3 separate regions of the Homo sapiens genome follow, and all the other regions are linked to region 3. Evidence: promoter capture Hi-C in 16 types of primary human blood cells and fetal thymus (Javierre and others, 2016). All regions are on one chromosome and are shown on one strand. Each heading gives the region's core, a stretch centred on a gene start or on the middle of the fragment in contact. The rest is flanking DNA. Distances are from core to core; before and after follow the strand shown.

Evidence for each region. Contacts are between HindIII fragments. The CHiCAGO score rates a contact against its expected background, and 5 or more counts as called.
Region 1: a contact is called between a fragment that was not itself captured here and the fragment with the promoter of DNAJC30 in region 3, in 3 of 17 cell types (M0 macrophages, endothelial precursors and erythroblasts). The highest score is 5.9, in M0 macrophages.
Region 2: a contact is called between a fragment that was not itself captured here and the fragment with the promoter of DNAJC30 in region 3, in 1 of 17 cell types (erythroblasts). The highest score is 5.0, in erythroblasts.

Annotation. Positions count from the first base shown.
Region 1 is chr7:74,014,621-74,019,005 of GRCh38, reverse strand. No RefSeq gene overlaps it. Among named protein-coding and RNA genes, the nearest start is that of ELN, 11 kb to the left of the region's middle. The HindIII fragment of the contact is 1,787 bases long and covers 1,462-3,248 here.
Region 2 is chr7:73,338,503-73,342,858 of GRCh38, reverse strand. It overlaps FKBP6 (FKBP prolyl isomerase family member 6 (inactive)), which reads right to left. Exons shown (of 9, transcript NM_003602.5): 6 at 2,027-2,221; 7 at 1,477-1,586; 8 at 1-52. It also overlaps the pseudogene RNU6-1080P. Among named protein-coding and RNA genes, the nearest start is that of FKBP6, 13 kb to the right of the region's middle. RefSeq lists an enhancer at 1-744. The HindIII fragment of the contact is 1,652 bases long and covers 506-2,157 here.
Region 3 is chr7:73,680,812-73,685,222 of GRCh38, reverse strand. It overlaps DNAJC30 (DnaJ heat shock protein family (Hsp40) member C30), which reads left to right and starts at 1,770. Exons shown (of 1, transcript NM_032317.3): 1 at 1,770-4,305. The coding sequence starts at 1,800. The coding sequence ends at 2,480. BUD23 (BUD23 rRNA methyltransferase and ribosome maturation factor) reads right to left here and starts at 1,626. Exons shown (of 12, transcript NM_017528.5): 1 at 1,550-1,626; 2 at 1,419-1,456. The coding sequence starts at 1,597. RefSeq lists enhancers at 1-68, 69-918, 1,849-2,018, 2,259-2,348. The HindIII fragment of the contact is 21,940 bases long and covers 1-4,411 here.

The DNA of each region.
Region 1 (4,385 bases), core at 1,106-3,605, 330 kb before region 3:
ATTTTTGTATTTTTAGTAGAGATGGGCTTTCACCATGTTGGCCAGGCTGGTCTCGAACTCCTGACCTCAAGTGATCCACCCCCCTCGGCCTCCCAAAGTGCTGGGATTAGAGGCGTGAGCTACCGCGCCCGGCCTCCACCCCTCTCTGCATCTCTGTCTCCCTCTCTGTCCATCTCCCCATGTTCTTGTCTGCATCTTTCTCTGCACCCCGGGGTCTACTCCTGCAGGGTCTGAGGCTCTCATTCCCTGGGTTTGCATTACATTGTTTATCCAGAAGAGATCCAGCTGCCTGAACTCTCCTGCCAGCTCCCAGAGGAAGAAGCATGCTCAGTGGGGTGGTCCCCCTGGCCCCTCATGCAGGTTTTGGCTTTTGGCTCTGGGCAGACACTGCTTTTCTCTGCCTTGTGCTCTCTCCTTGAAATCACCGGGGCAGCCTGGATGGTCTTCCTCCTGCCCCCTGCCCCTCCCAGAGGAGATTGAAGCCTGCTGGGGATGTAGCAGTGAGGGTGAGTGTGTCTGTGTGTGTCTCTGTGTCAGTATATCTGTGGATGTGAGGCACTGTGTGTGCATGTTGTCATGTTGACTTTTGCCAGATGACATCTGCTCACGCAACTGCTAATGCAACTCATAAGAGTATTTTATTTATTTTTGAGACAGGGTCTTGCTCTGTTATCCAGGCTGCAGTGCAGTGGTGCTATCATAGCTTACTGCAGCCTCAGCCTCCCGGGCTCAAGTGATCCTCCCGCCTCAGTCTCCCGAGTAGCTGGGACTACAGGTGTGCACCAACACGCCCGGCTACTTTTTAAATTTTTTGGACTTGGGGTCTCATTATGTTGCCCAGGCTGGTCTCAAACTTCTGGCCTCAAGTGATCCTCCCATCTTGGCCTCCCGAAGTGCTGTGATTACTGGCGGGAGCCTCTGCGCTGGGCTCCCAGTGTGATTTTAACTTTAATTTCCCTGATGAGTAATGATGGCGCACACTTTCTCACACGCTTTTTGGGCATTTGATTATCCTTGTTTGTGAAGTGACTTTTTACGTCTTATGCACATTTTTGAAAATAGGATTGATATTTCCTTATGATGCGTGGAGTTCTTTATGTTGATACAATTCTGCAGTTAGCTATCTGTGTGAGAAAGATCTTCTCTCAATCTTTGGCTTGCCTTTATTTATATTTATTTTGATTGTTTGTAGAGATGGGGGTCTTGCTATGTTGCCCAGGTTGGCCTTGAACTCCTGGCTTCAAGCGATCCTCCCACCTTGGCCTCTCAAGGCACTGGGATTATGAGCATGAGCCACCCTGCCTGGCTTGCCTTACTTTTAATGCTGTCTTTTGATGACTACAATTCCTTAATTTTAACAAAGTCAAATGTATCCGTCTTTTCTCTAGGGGTTAGTGCTTCATCTGTCCTGTTTAAGAAATCTGTGCCCACCTGAAGGTCATGAAGATAATCTGTTAAGCTTTATTTTAGAAACATTACAGTTTTCCCTTTCACAATTAGGTCTATGACCTACGTTGACACAGCATTTTAAATCCCCCCAGAGCCAGGACTTGGCCTGTCTACCCTCACCCTTCCCAAAGCGTGGTGGCCTCAGCGTTTGGAAAAAAAACTCTTCCCTCCTGGGTCGTCAGCTGCACAGCCTCTTTCGAGGGCCCCAGCCCTTCCTCCAGCCCCTGGAATTAATAAAAGCTCTGAGCTGCCTGTGGTTTTCAGGCTGAGAGCTGGTTCCAACGCCTGTTAGGATTCAGGCAGCAAGCTGGGGGCCACCATCCTTTCTCCATGTGGGTTTTTGTGTTCCCTCTCCTGGTGGTGGAGAAGCTCACCCATTCATGGAACTCTGAGGGTCCCCAGACCAGAATAAGGAATCTCTCTTTCTTTTTCTTTTCTTTTCTTTTTTTTTTTTTTTTTTGAGACAGACTCTCACTCTGTCACTCAGGCTGGAGTGCAGTGGTGCGATCTCGGCTCACTGCAACCTCCATCTTCTGGGTTCAAATGATTCTCCTGCCTCAGCCTCCCAAGTAGCTGGGATGACAGGTGCCTGACACTGTGCCCCGCTAACTTTTGTATTTTTAGTAGAGATGGGGTTTCGCCATGTTGGCCAGGCTGGTCTTGAACTCCTGACCTCAAGCGATCCGCCCCCCTCAGCCTCCCAAAGTGCTGGGATTATAGGTGTGAGCCACTGTGCCCAGCCCGGAATTAGGAATCTTTAAAGAGCCCTGGCTGGGTGAGGTGGCTCACGCCTGTAATCCTAGCACTTTGGGAGGCTGAGGCAGATTGCTTGAGGTCAGGAGTTCGAGACCAGCCTGGCCAACAAGGTGAAACTTCGTCTCTACTAAAAATACAATTAGCCAGGCATGGTGGCACATGCCTATAGTCCCAGCTGCTTGGGAGGCTGAGGCAGGAGAATCACTTGAACATGGGAGGTGGAGGTTGCAGTGAGCCGAGATCGTGCCAGTGCACTCCAGCCTGGGTGACAGACGGAGACTCCTTCTCAAAAAAAAAAAAAAAAAAGAAAAGAAAAAAGAAAAAAAAAAGAGCATCTTATCTAGTCCCTCCTTACTCCTCCCTAAACTCTCCCTACAGCCTGGATTTCTCTCAGCTGCCTCTCTCTTTAATGGGCTGGGGGAGCTCATTCCAACCAGTATGGCAGATAGGTTCCGTCACCAACTGTGTTTGATGGGCAATGGCCATCAGAAGTGGTGTTAAGAAGGATTCTGAGGATATCCAGTCTCAGCAGACGGGAATCACACAGTCAATGGGTCATGTCTGCTGGGAGCAAGAAGTGGGAGGTATGGCCTATACTTTGTGTCTTAAATGACCCTGATCTAGTCTAAATCCCTTATTAGGATTAATCCAAAGTAGAGTTTAAATGATTCATTCAATGGTACTCAGGCATCAATTAACAGAGATGGTTTGTCTGGGCGCAGTGGCTCACGCCTGTAATCCCAGCACTTTGGGAGGCTGATGTGGGAGGATTCCTTGAAGCCAGGAGTTAGAGATCAGCGTGGGCAACATAGCGAAACCCCCATCTCTGCAAAAAACAAACAAAACAATTAGCTGGGTATGGTGGTATATGCCTGTACTCCAGCCATGCAGGAGGCTGAGGTAGGAGGCTCACTTGAGTCCAGGAGCTCAAGGCTGCAGTGAGTCATGACTACGTCATTGCGCTCCAGTCTGGGCAACAGAGTGAGTCTCTGTTTCTAAAAGAAAAAAAATAATAATAATGATAATAAGATAGTTTAGAAGCTTGGCTATTACCCATTTAACAGAAAGGCACTTACTTGTTTATTCAGCAAATATTGATTTAGCAACTACTAATTTCTGTTCCTGTGCTGAGCATTGAGAATATGATGGTGAATCCAATCTAGTCTGATGTCTGCCTAATTCTGCGTTTCTCCCTTGACTCCAATATTCAATGTATGGACTTAATGGAGCCATCTCACGGGATAGTCACTTACCATCTGGTGAGCCAGCTGTTCCTGGGGTGGGATTATAATAAAATTTTTAAAAAATGGAACTTGGGGCCAGGTGTGGTGACTCATGCCTATAATCCCAGCAATTTGGGAGACCAAGGTGGGCGGATCACTTGAGCCCGGGAGTTCGAGACCAGCCTGGGCAATATGGCAAAACCCCATTTCTACAAAACACACACACACACACACACACACACACACACACACAAAATTAGCCAGACTTAATGGCGTGTGCCTGTAGTCTCAGCTACTTGGCGGGGCTGAGGCTGGAGGATCGCTTGAGCCTGGAAGGTGGAGGTTGCAGTGAGCTGAGATCGTGCCACTGCACTCCAGCCTGGGTGACAGATTGAACCCTGTCTCAAAAAAAAAAAAAAAAAAAAAGAAAATAAAAAAGGAAGTTGGTGGGTAACTGGGGTTCTGAGGTTGTACTGTTTCTCTCCAAGTACCTTTGCAGAAAGAGGTCCCCAAATAAGGCCTGTAAATGAAAAGATGTGAAAACACAAATCACTAATGAAATGGACCAGGGGGGCTCCTGGGTTTCTATGATGGTCCTTGGAGACTGTTCGGGCACCATTCAGCACCATTCGGTCCTCCCCTGGTTCTGCCCACCTGCAATGCCTGTCTCCCTCTGAGCCGGCCTCAGGACCTTCCGCCCTTCCCCAGACACGCCCTTCCCCAGACACCCCCTTCCCACTACACCCCTGTGGTTAAAAGCAGAGGCTCTGAGTCCACATGGCGCAAGTTCAAGTCCCTCTTGTTCCACTTTGGGCACTTTGACCTTGGGCAAGGTACCCTCCCTGAGCTTCAGTTTCCTCATCTCTTAGAGAGGGTGTGGCAGGGAGTCAGGGAGCTCAAGCACATTGCATGCATGCAAGCACAAAATAGCTGCTCAGCAAAATCTTAGCTACAGCC
Region 2 (4,356 bases), core at 82-2,581, 340 kb after region 3:
GAACATGCGGTGCCACATTTCTTTCTCTTTATCCACATAGTCCCTGTAACAGCTGGAGAGGGAAATACACACTTGTTAGAGGAGGTCTGTGTTTGGAGGAGGTGACATCTGGTGGCTGGAATTCTCCACTCACATCCAGAAACACTGAAAATTTATCAGGACTCAAACTGAGTTGGGAGGGATGGAAGTAAGCTGGAGAGGTGGGGAGGCAGGGAAGGCTCCCACAGCTGGCCAAGGAGCCAAGCCCCTGGACAAAACCCCCTAACTGGAAAGGACAGCTGCCTTGAAGGGCAGGTGCCTCTGGCCACCAGGCTCCGGGCTGAGTCTCGCCAAACGACCCCTCACCCTCAGCAGCCTCTAACCTCTCCTGATTTTCTCACTAAAGAATGACCAGATCTGACAGGATACTTTTAAATACCAGAAAGGAAATTGCTGGCAAGTCCTAAAAGGCTTGAAATGTAACCTAAGAGATACTCACATCTCAGACACTAATGCCAAGCAAGCTTTAACTAGCAATCTGGACCGAATGTTTAATATTAAGACAAGTAGAGAATTTCACCATTACAGAAGAAGATATACCTTAAAAACCATGGACCTATTACCAAGTGATGGAGTTATGGGGGACTCCTATTTATAGGTAGACATTTTCAAGGTTTTCTACAATGGACACAAAACTTCTATAATGAGAAAAAATTACATCACTAAAAGACTGGTGTGCTTAGTCACGTGGGTAACAAGGAGGTCAATCCATGGGTATGAGTCAGACCCGAAACGCCTGTTTCTGGTCACATGAGGACCTACGAGGGGCCTTTCTGCACTTGGTTAGGAGCAGTGGTTCTTGGTGGAGCACGCAGGGAAGAGCGCACCAGAAGACTCTTTTTAAGTGACACCGGGGCCAGTTGTGGTGGCTTGTGCCTGTAATCCCAGCACTTTGGAAGGACGAGGTGGGGGGATCACCTGAGGTCAGGAGTTTGAGACCAGCCTGGTCAACACGGTGAAACCCTGTCTCAACTAAAATACAAAAACAATTAGCCAGATGTGGTGGTACACGCCTGTAATCCCAGCTACCTTGGAGGCTGAGACAGGAGAATCGTCTGAACTCGGGACGCGGAGGTTGCAGTGAGCCGAGATCATGCCATTGCCCTATAGCCTAGGTGACAGAGAGGGACTCCATCTCAAAAAAAAAAAAAAAAAGTGACACCCTCCCACCTCTCTAGGGGTTGTTTATTTGCGGTAGGGGAAACAGAAAGGTGGGCGATGATGGAGATGTATAGTCTGGCAGTCTGTCTCACCTGCTTGCTGGGAACTGCTGGTGCAGCGCACGGCCGAGCACTTCAGAAACCCAGCTGTAGAGGGGGCGGCCTCCTAACACTCTGGGCAACACCGCCAGACTGTCCTTTGTTGGGGGGGGTGGGGGGACAGACCAGAGTCACAACCCCACCCATCTCTCTTCATGCTCCTGCAAACACAGCTCACCTAGCCAGTTTCTTCAGCTCATTATTGATGTCATGATTGAAGGGTTGCTCCTTCTGGGCTCGAACTAGAAAATCCCGGGCCTTTTGATACTCAGTCAGGAGAAGACAAGCCTGTCCCAAGGAGAGAACTTTAAAAGCACAGTTAGAAAAGATATCATTTGGCTGGGCACGGTGGCTCATGCCTGTAATCCCAGCACTTTGGGAGGCCAAGGCGGGCGGATCAACTGAGGTCAGGGATTCCAGACCAGCCTGGCCAACACGGCAAAACCCTATCTCTACTAAAACTACAAAAATTAGCTGGGTGTGATGGCGCATGCCTGTAATCCCAGCTACTTGAGAGGCTGAGGCAGGAAAATTGCTTGAAGCCAGGAAGCGGAGGTTGCAGCGAGCCGAATTTGCGCCACTGCACTCCATCCTGGGCAACAAGAGCAAAACTCTGTCTAAAAAAAAAAAAAAAAAAAAAAAAGACAGCATTTTTGCAGTAGCTGAGTTGAGCACTGCTACTACCTTTTCCTGGGTGTTTATTCCCAAGTCACTGGCTTCCAACTCACCTGTCCACACCTGAAGAGGGCCTTGGCATTCTTTTGGTCAATGATCAAAGCCTGCTCTCCATAGCACAGGGCTATGGTGGGTCGGTCTAGCTTCAGGTATGTAAAGGACAGGTTCAGGAGAACAGGAAGCTTGGCGGCCTCCACCAGGTGCTGCTCTTCAGGGGGTGCTGATCGCCGGCGCAGAAGCAATAGGGCCTGTGGAGAGGGAAGGCAGATGGTCAAGAGGAGTAACAGTCTTATGTACAAAACCCTAAAGAATCCACACGCAAAAACTATCAGAGCTAAAAATCGGCTGTTACAGGTTGCAAGACACAAGATCAACATAAGAAGTCAGGTATATTTCTTTTTTCTTCTTTTTTCAGACGGAGTCTTGTTCTGTCGCCAGGCTGGAGTGATCTCAGCTCACTGCAACCTCCGCCTTCTGAGTAGCTGGGACTACAGGTGTGCACCACCATGCCCGGCTAATTTTTTCATATTTTAATATGACCATTTTGGCCAGGATGGTCTCGATCTCCTGACCTCGTGATCCACCTGCCTCAGCCTCCCAAAGTGTTGGGATTACAGGCGTGAGCCACCATGCCCGGCCAAAAGTCAGGTATATTTCTATGCTCTAGCAACGAACTACCCAAAAATGAAATTAAGAAAACAACTCCATTTACAATAGCATCAAAAAGAATACAGTAAGTAGCAATAAACTTAAAACAACTGAAAGACTTGCACACTGAAAACTACAAAATGGTTGTTGAAAGAAATTAAAGATGATTCAAATAAAATGGAAAAATATCTCATGTTCATTAATTGGAAGACAATATTAAGATGGTAATATTTTCCTAACTGGTCAACATATTCATGCAACCCTACCAAAATTTCAACAGCCTTTTTTGTAGACACAGACAAGTTGATTAGATAATTCATATGGTGGCCAGGCACAGTGGCTCATGCCTGTAATCCCAGCACTTTGGGAGGCTGAGGCGGGCAGATCACCTGAGGTCGGGAGTTCGAGACCCGTCTGGCCAACATGGTGAAACCCCATCTCTACTAAAAATACGAAATCAGCTGGGTGTGGTGGCAGGTGCCTGTAATTCCAGCTACATTGGAGGCTGAGGCAGGAGAATCACTTGAACATGGGAGGCGGAGGTTGTGGTGAACCGAGACCACACCACTGCACTCCAGCCTAGGTGACAGTGCAAGACTCCACCTCAAAAAAAAAAAAAAAAAAAGAGTCACATGGAAATTCAAAGGACCCTGAATAGCCAAAATACTCTTGAGAAAGGACAAAGCTGGAGAACTCATATTTCCCATTTCAAAACTTACTAAAAGACAAAAAATAAACAAAAAACACGAAACTTCCTAAAGCTACAGTAATTACGCCAGTGTAGCACCGGCATAAGGACAGACATGTAGATCAATGAAATTGAACACAGAGTCCAGAAATAGATTTATATATCTACAGTCAACTGATTTTCAATAAGGGTGTCCAGACCATTCAATGGGAGAGAACTGTCTTTTCAACAAATAATGCTGGGACGAGAGACTATCAACATGCAAAAGAATGTTTACCTTGCACTAGATGCAAAAATTAACTAAAGTGGAGCATAGCCCTAAAAGTAGGAGTTAAAACTCTAAGACTCTGCGCTGGCTTCGGCAGCACATATACTAAAAATTGGAAAGACAGGGAGAAGATCGCATGGCCCCTGTGCAAAGATGACATGCAAATTCATAAAGCATTTCATATATTTTTTTAAAAAACTATCAGACTTTAGAAGTACAAATAGGTGTAAATTTTTGTGACCCTGGATTAGAAAATGGTTTCTTAGATATAACACCAAAAGCACAAATAAGCAAAGAATTAGACTTCATCAAAATGTAAAACTTTTGTGTTTCAATGGACACTGCAAAGAAAGTGCAGACAGCCCACAGAACAGCATAGAGCATTTGCGCATCCTGTGTTTGTTGAGGGTGTAGTATCCAGAGCACAGCAGCAACATTTACTCCTCAGTACAAAGACAGATGACCCAACTTTCAGATATGCATAGACTCCGAATAGACATTTTTCCAAAGAAGATAGACAAATAGTCATTAAATGCATGAAAATATGTCCAATGTCATCAGTCATCAGGGAAATGCAAATCAAAACCACAGTGAGATACCACTTCACATCCGCTAAGATGCCTAACTTTAAAAATATAAAATAAGTGTTGGTGAAGATGTGGAGAAATTGGAAGCTTCGCACATTACTCGTGGGAATGTAAGATGGTACAGCTGCTGTAGGAAGCAGTTTGGCAGTTCCTCAAAAATTTTGACAGTTCCCACACAATCCAGCAATTGCA
Region 3 (4,411 bases), core at 521-3,020:
CTGCAACCTCTGCCTCTCAGGTTCAAGTGATTCTCCTGCCTCAGCCTCCCGTAGGCCCGGCTAATATCTGTATTTTCAGTAGAGACGGGATTTCACCATGCTGGCCAGGTTGGTCTCGGAATTCCTGACCTCAGGTGATCCGTCCACCTCCGCCTCCCACAGGGCTGGGATTACTGGTATGAGCCATAGCGCCCGGCCAGTAACCATTTACTGAAATAGGGCTAGTCTCTCAGTGAGAGAGCACGGAAAAACCACAAAGTATCTTTTTTTTTTTTTTTTTTTTTTTTTTTTTTTTTTTTGAAACAAAGTCTTGCTCTGTCGCCCAGGCTGGAGTGCAGTGCCGTGATGTCGGCTCACTGCAACCTCCCCCTCCCGGGTTCAAGCTATTCTCCTGCCTCAGCCTCCCGAGTAGCTGGGGTTACAGAAACCCGCCATCGCGCCCGGCTAATTTTTTCCATTTTTAGTAGAGCTGGAGTTTCGCCATGTTGGCCAGGCTGGTCTCGAACTCCTGACCTCAGGTGATCCGTCTGCCTCAGCCTCCCAAAGTGTTGCGATTACAGGCGTGAGACACCGCGCCAGCTTCCCCCCGCCCCCATCCCCCCCCCTTTTTTTTTTTTTTAACGACTCGAGGTGCGCTGGCTCACGCCTGCAATCCCAACAGTTCGGGAGACGAAGGCGGGAGGATCGCTTGAGCCCTGGGCTTGGGCCACCTTGGGCAACACAGCGAGACCCCATCGCAACAAAAATTTACAAAAAAAAGCCAGGCGTAGTGGCGCGCGCCTGTGGTCCCAACTACTGGAGAGGCAGAGGGGAGCCACCACACCCGGCTAATTTTTTTATTACTTGCGGAGACGGGGGCTCGCTACGTTGCCCAGGCTGGTCTCGAACCCCTGAGCTCAAGCGATCCTCCCGCCTCAGCCTCCCAAAGTGCTGCGATTGCTGAGATTACACGCGTGAGCCACTCCCACCTGGCTACAACTCAGTAGTTATACAAACTACCCTCTATGAAATTCAGACAATAATACACCAACTGCTGTCTTGGAGATTTATTGGCAACAAGGCGCCACGATAAGCATCCTACGGCCATTACTTCCTTCCCCCCACCAGGACTGACCCCTCGCCCGTACCCACCGCCCAGCGCCTCTTTTACCACATGTTTAGGACAAATTGTCACATTCGACTTTGAAAACCACCCACGGAAAGCAAGCGCGATCACCCCTACCTCAACGCTGAGGTACCGAGGCCCAGAGAGGTCGGCAACTTAAAGTTGATTTACCAGAGACAGAAATCGGCACCCACCCGGGTCCTTCCCTTCCCGCACCCCCAAATTCTACGGCCTTTCCGGGCAACGCCAGCAACAGGGGCAACTTGCCGCTTCCCGACCCCCGGACGCCCCGCAGTATTCAGGCTCCCCTCACTTGCGAACGTATTTCCGGGCTTCTGTCTCGTCATAAAACTGCGAAAAAGAGAAAATGGCATGTAGAGGAATAATTCAGACGCGGTGGCCGCAGAAGTGGGGAGAGGGGTGTCCGCGGGCCCCGGGACTTACCAGCTCTGGGGGTCCGCCATGCTCCGGACGCCGGCCGCGGGACGCCATTCTCACGCCTCAGCAGCACACCTGCGACTGGCGCCTGCCGGCACCCGGTTTTTATGTCATCAGCCCGGCGACCGCTTAGTAATACGCATGTTCCACCCCCACGACCGCCCCGCCCCCCCCTTTACGTGACTGGCCACAGGGCGACCAACCGACTCCTCTCATTGGCCGGTTTCTCTTGCACCGCCTGCCGAATCAATTCAACATGGCAGCCATGCGCTGGCGATGGTGGCAGCGGCTGTTACCTTGGAGGTTGCTGCAGGCCCGTGGCTTTCCACAAAATTCTGCACCCAGCCTGGGCCTAGGAGCGAGGACTTATTCCCAGGGCGACTGCTCGTATTCGCGCACGGCGCTGTATGATCTGCTCGGCGTCCCCTCCACAGCCACGCAGGCCCAAATCAAGGCGGCTTACTACCGTCAGTGCTTTCTCTACCACCCGGACCGCAACTCCGGGAGCGCGGAGGCCGCCGAGCGCTTCACGCGCATCTCCCAGGCCTACGTGGTGCTGGGCAGTGCCACCCTCCGTCGCAAGTATGATCGCGGCCTACTCAGCGACGAGGACCTGCGCGGACCTGGCGTCCGGCCCTCCAGGACGCCCGCACCCGACCCCGGCTCGCCGCGTACCCCGCCGCCCACCTCTCGGACCCACGACGGTTCTCGGGCCTCCCCCGGCGCCAACCGCACGATGTTCAACTTTGACGCCTTCTACCAGGCCCACTACGGGGAACAACTGGAGCGGGAACGGCGCCTGAGGGCCCGGCGGGAGGCCCTTCGCAAACGGCAGGAGTATCGGTCCATGAAAGGCCTCCGCTGGGAGGATACCCGAGACACGGCTGCCATTTTCCTCATCTTTTCAATCTTCATCATCATCGGCTTTTATATTTAATCGGAGAGAGAAGGGAAGGGGAGTGTCCCCAGCCAACCCCCCAGAAACGGCCTTTTTTCCTGCCTCTGAACCCTTGGCCATTGATAGTCTACCTTTGCTGGGATCCGAAGGAACTGTACTCCCCCTGCCCTCCCCGACCCGCCCAGCTTAGCCGATGACCTGCACATCGCTCCACTGTGGTCCAGAAAAGGAGGCCTTTCGATGTCTGAGAAAGAGGCCCCACGCTGTAGAGTCCCGAAAGCCCAGGAGTGAAGGGGGTTCCTGGAGTCTCTAGGGTGCTTCTTCCAGAGTCTGTCTTCTTGCTTCCAGATGTGGTCAACTTCTGGAACACTCGCTGTAGCTTTATTGTTTAGCCCCAAGCAAGATTTATCTCCTCCTGCCCCGCATGTGTATGGTGGGCCTCTGTAACCTTGAAATGTGCAATGTGACCAATTGTTGACTACCAAAAGAAAAGGTCTGGGGTTGTACGAAACTTGTCTTTCTGTGACTTCCCCAAGCCGCAGGTGAGACCTGGTCCAGGGTAAGAATGGGATCGGTGGAGAGCCTGTCGTTCCTCCCGCTAAGGTCAGCCCCCTGGGGCACTCCTCCTTATGTTGATAGCATGTAGGAGTGAGAAAAAGTCATTGAGCATAAGGAATGAGTGTTCCTGTGCCCATATTTAATGTGTGACCTTGGAGAAGTTACTCTGTAGGCATGACAGCAGAGGAGAAAATCATTTGGCATCTTGAGGTCTGTCATGCTTTATTATCCATAGTTTTTGGGGGGTTTTTTGTTTTGTTTTGTTTTTGAGATGGAGTCTTGCGCTCTGTTGCCCAGGCTGGAGTGCAGTGGTGCGATCTTAGCTCACTGCAACCTCCACCTCCCGGGTTCAAGCGATTCTCCTGCCTCAGCCTCCTGTGTAACTGGGATTACAGGCTCCCACCACACCTGGCTAGTGTTTTGTATTTTTAGTAGATACGGGGTTTCACCATGCTGGCCAGACTGAGGTCTCGAACTGCCGACCTCAGGCTGTCTGCCCGTCCAGCCTCCCAAAGTGCTGGGATTGCAGGCATGAGCCACTGCTCCCGGCCCTATTATCCATAGTTCTAATCCACAGGGATTACAGCATAATGCTAGCAGGGCCAGGTTCATCCTTGAGACAGTGTGGCTGGCTGTCACCTGGTCCTCCCTTTACCAGCCAGCCCCATTGCACACTGTGCAGCCCATCCCCTCCCAGAAATAGAGTGACAAACTCTGCACTTAAGTCCCCTGTTTCTGTTTAACTTGCAGTGCTTATCACAGGCCCTTCCTTAATTTTTTAAACAAGGCTGCTTGAGGCTGGGGTAAATTTTGGGGCTTTGGGAGTACACAGGACTACTGAGGGACGGGGAGTTGGTGGCTTGGTGTTCATGGTGGAGACTTGGTTCTTTACGCAGAGCAGGCTAAAGGCGTGTTTTTTCTGCTCTGTTTCTAATTCATGTTAAGTAGTTGGTCATCACTTTGGTCAGAGCTGCTGCTGAAGCTCTCTTAACTGTGAGTCACTGGACGTTGGCAGGGAGTTGGCTGTGAGATTGTAGGTGCTCAAGTGTTTCTGTTCGGGACTGAGTGTGAATCTGTAAAAGGGGAAAATCCTCGCAAGAGGTCTACGAGAAGGATGAGGGCCCAAGTCTAGGGTCTAAACAAAGCCAGGAGTGGTTTGGTATATTACTGAGTGCAATCATTGCGTGCCATTCCTGCACTCAATGTATTGTGTAAAATCCTTAGGTAAAATGGGATAAACCCACAGCTGGTCCTACTTGGCCTCTTGAAAACCATTCCATCATTGTGCCAATCTAGCCTGAAAAGGAAAAAAAAAAAGGGAAACCATTGATTGTCTCTTGCCTCGGAGGTTGGGGGTATGCCCCTACTCCAGGCTTTGCAGTGATCATATGATGCAGTAATGAAGATCTGGG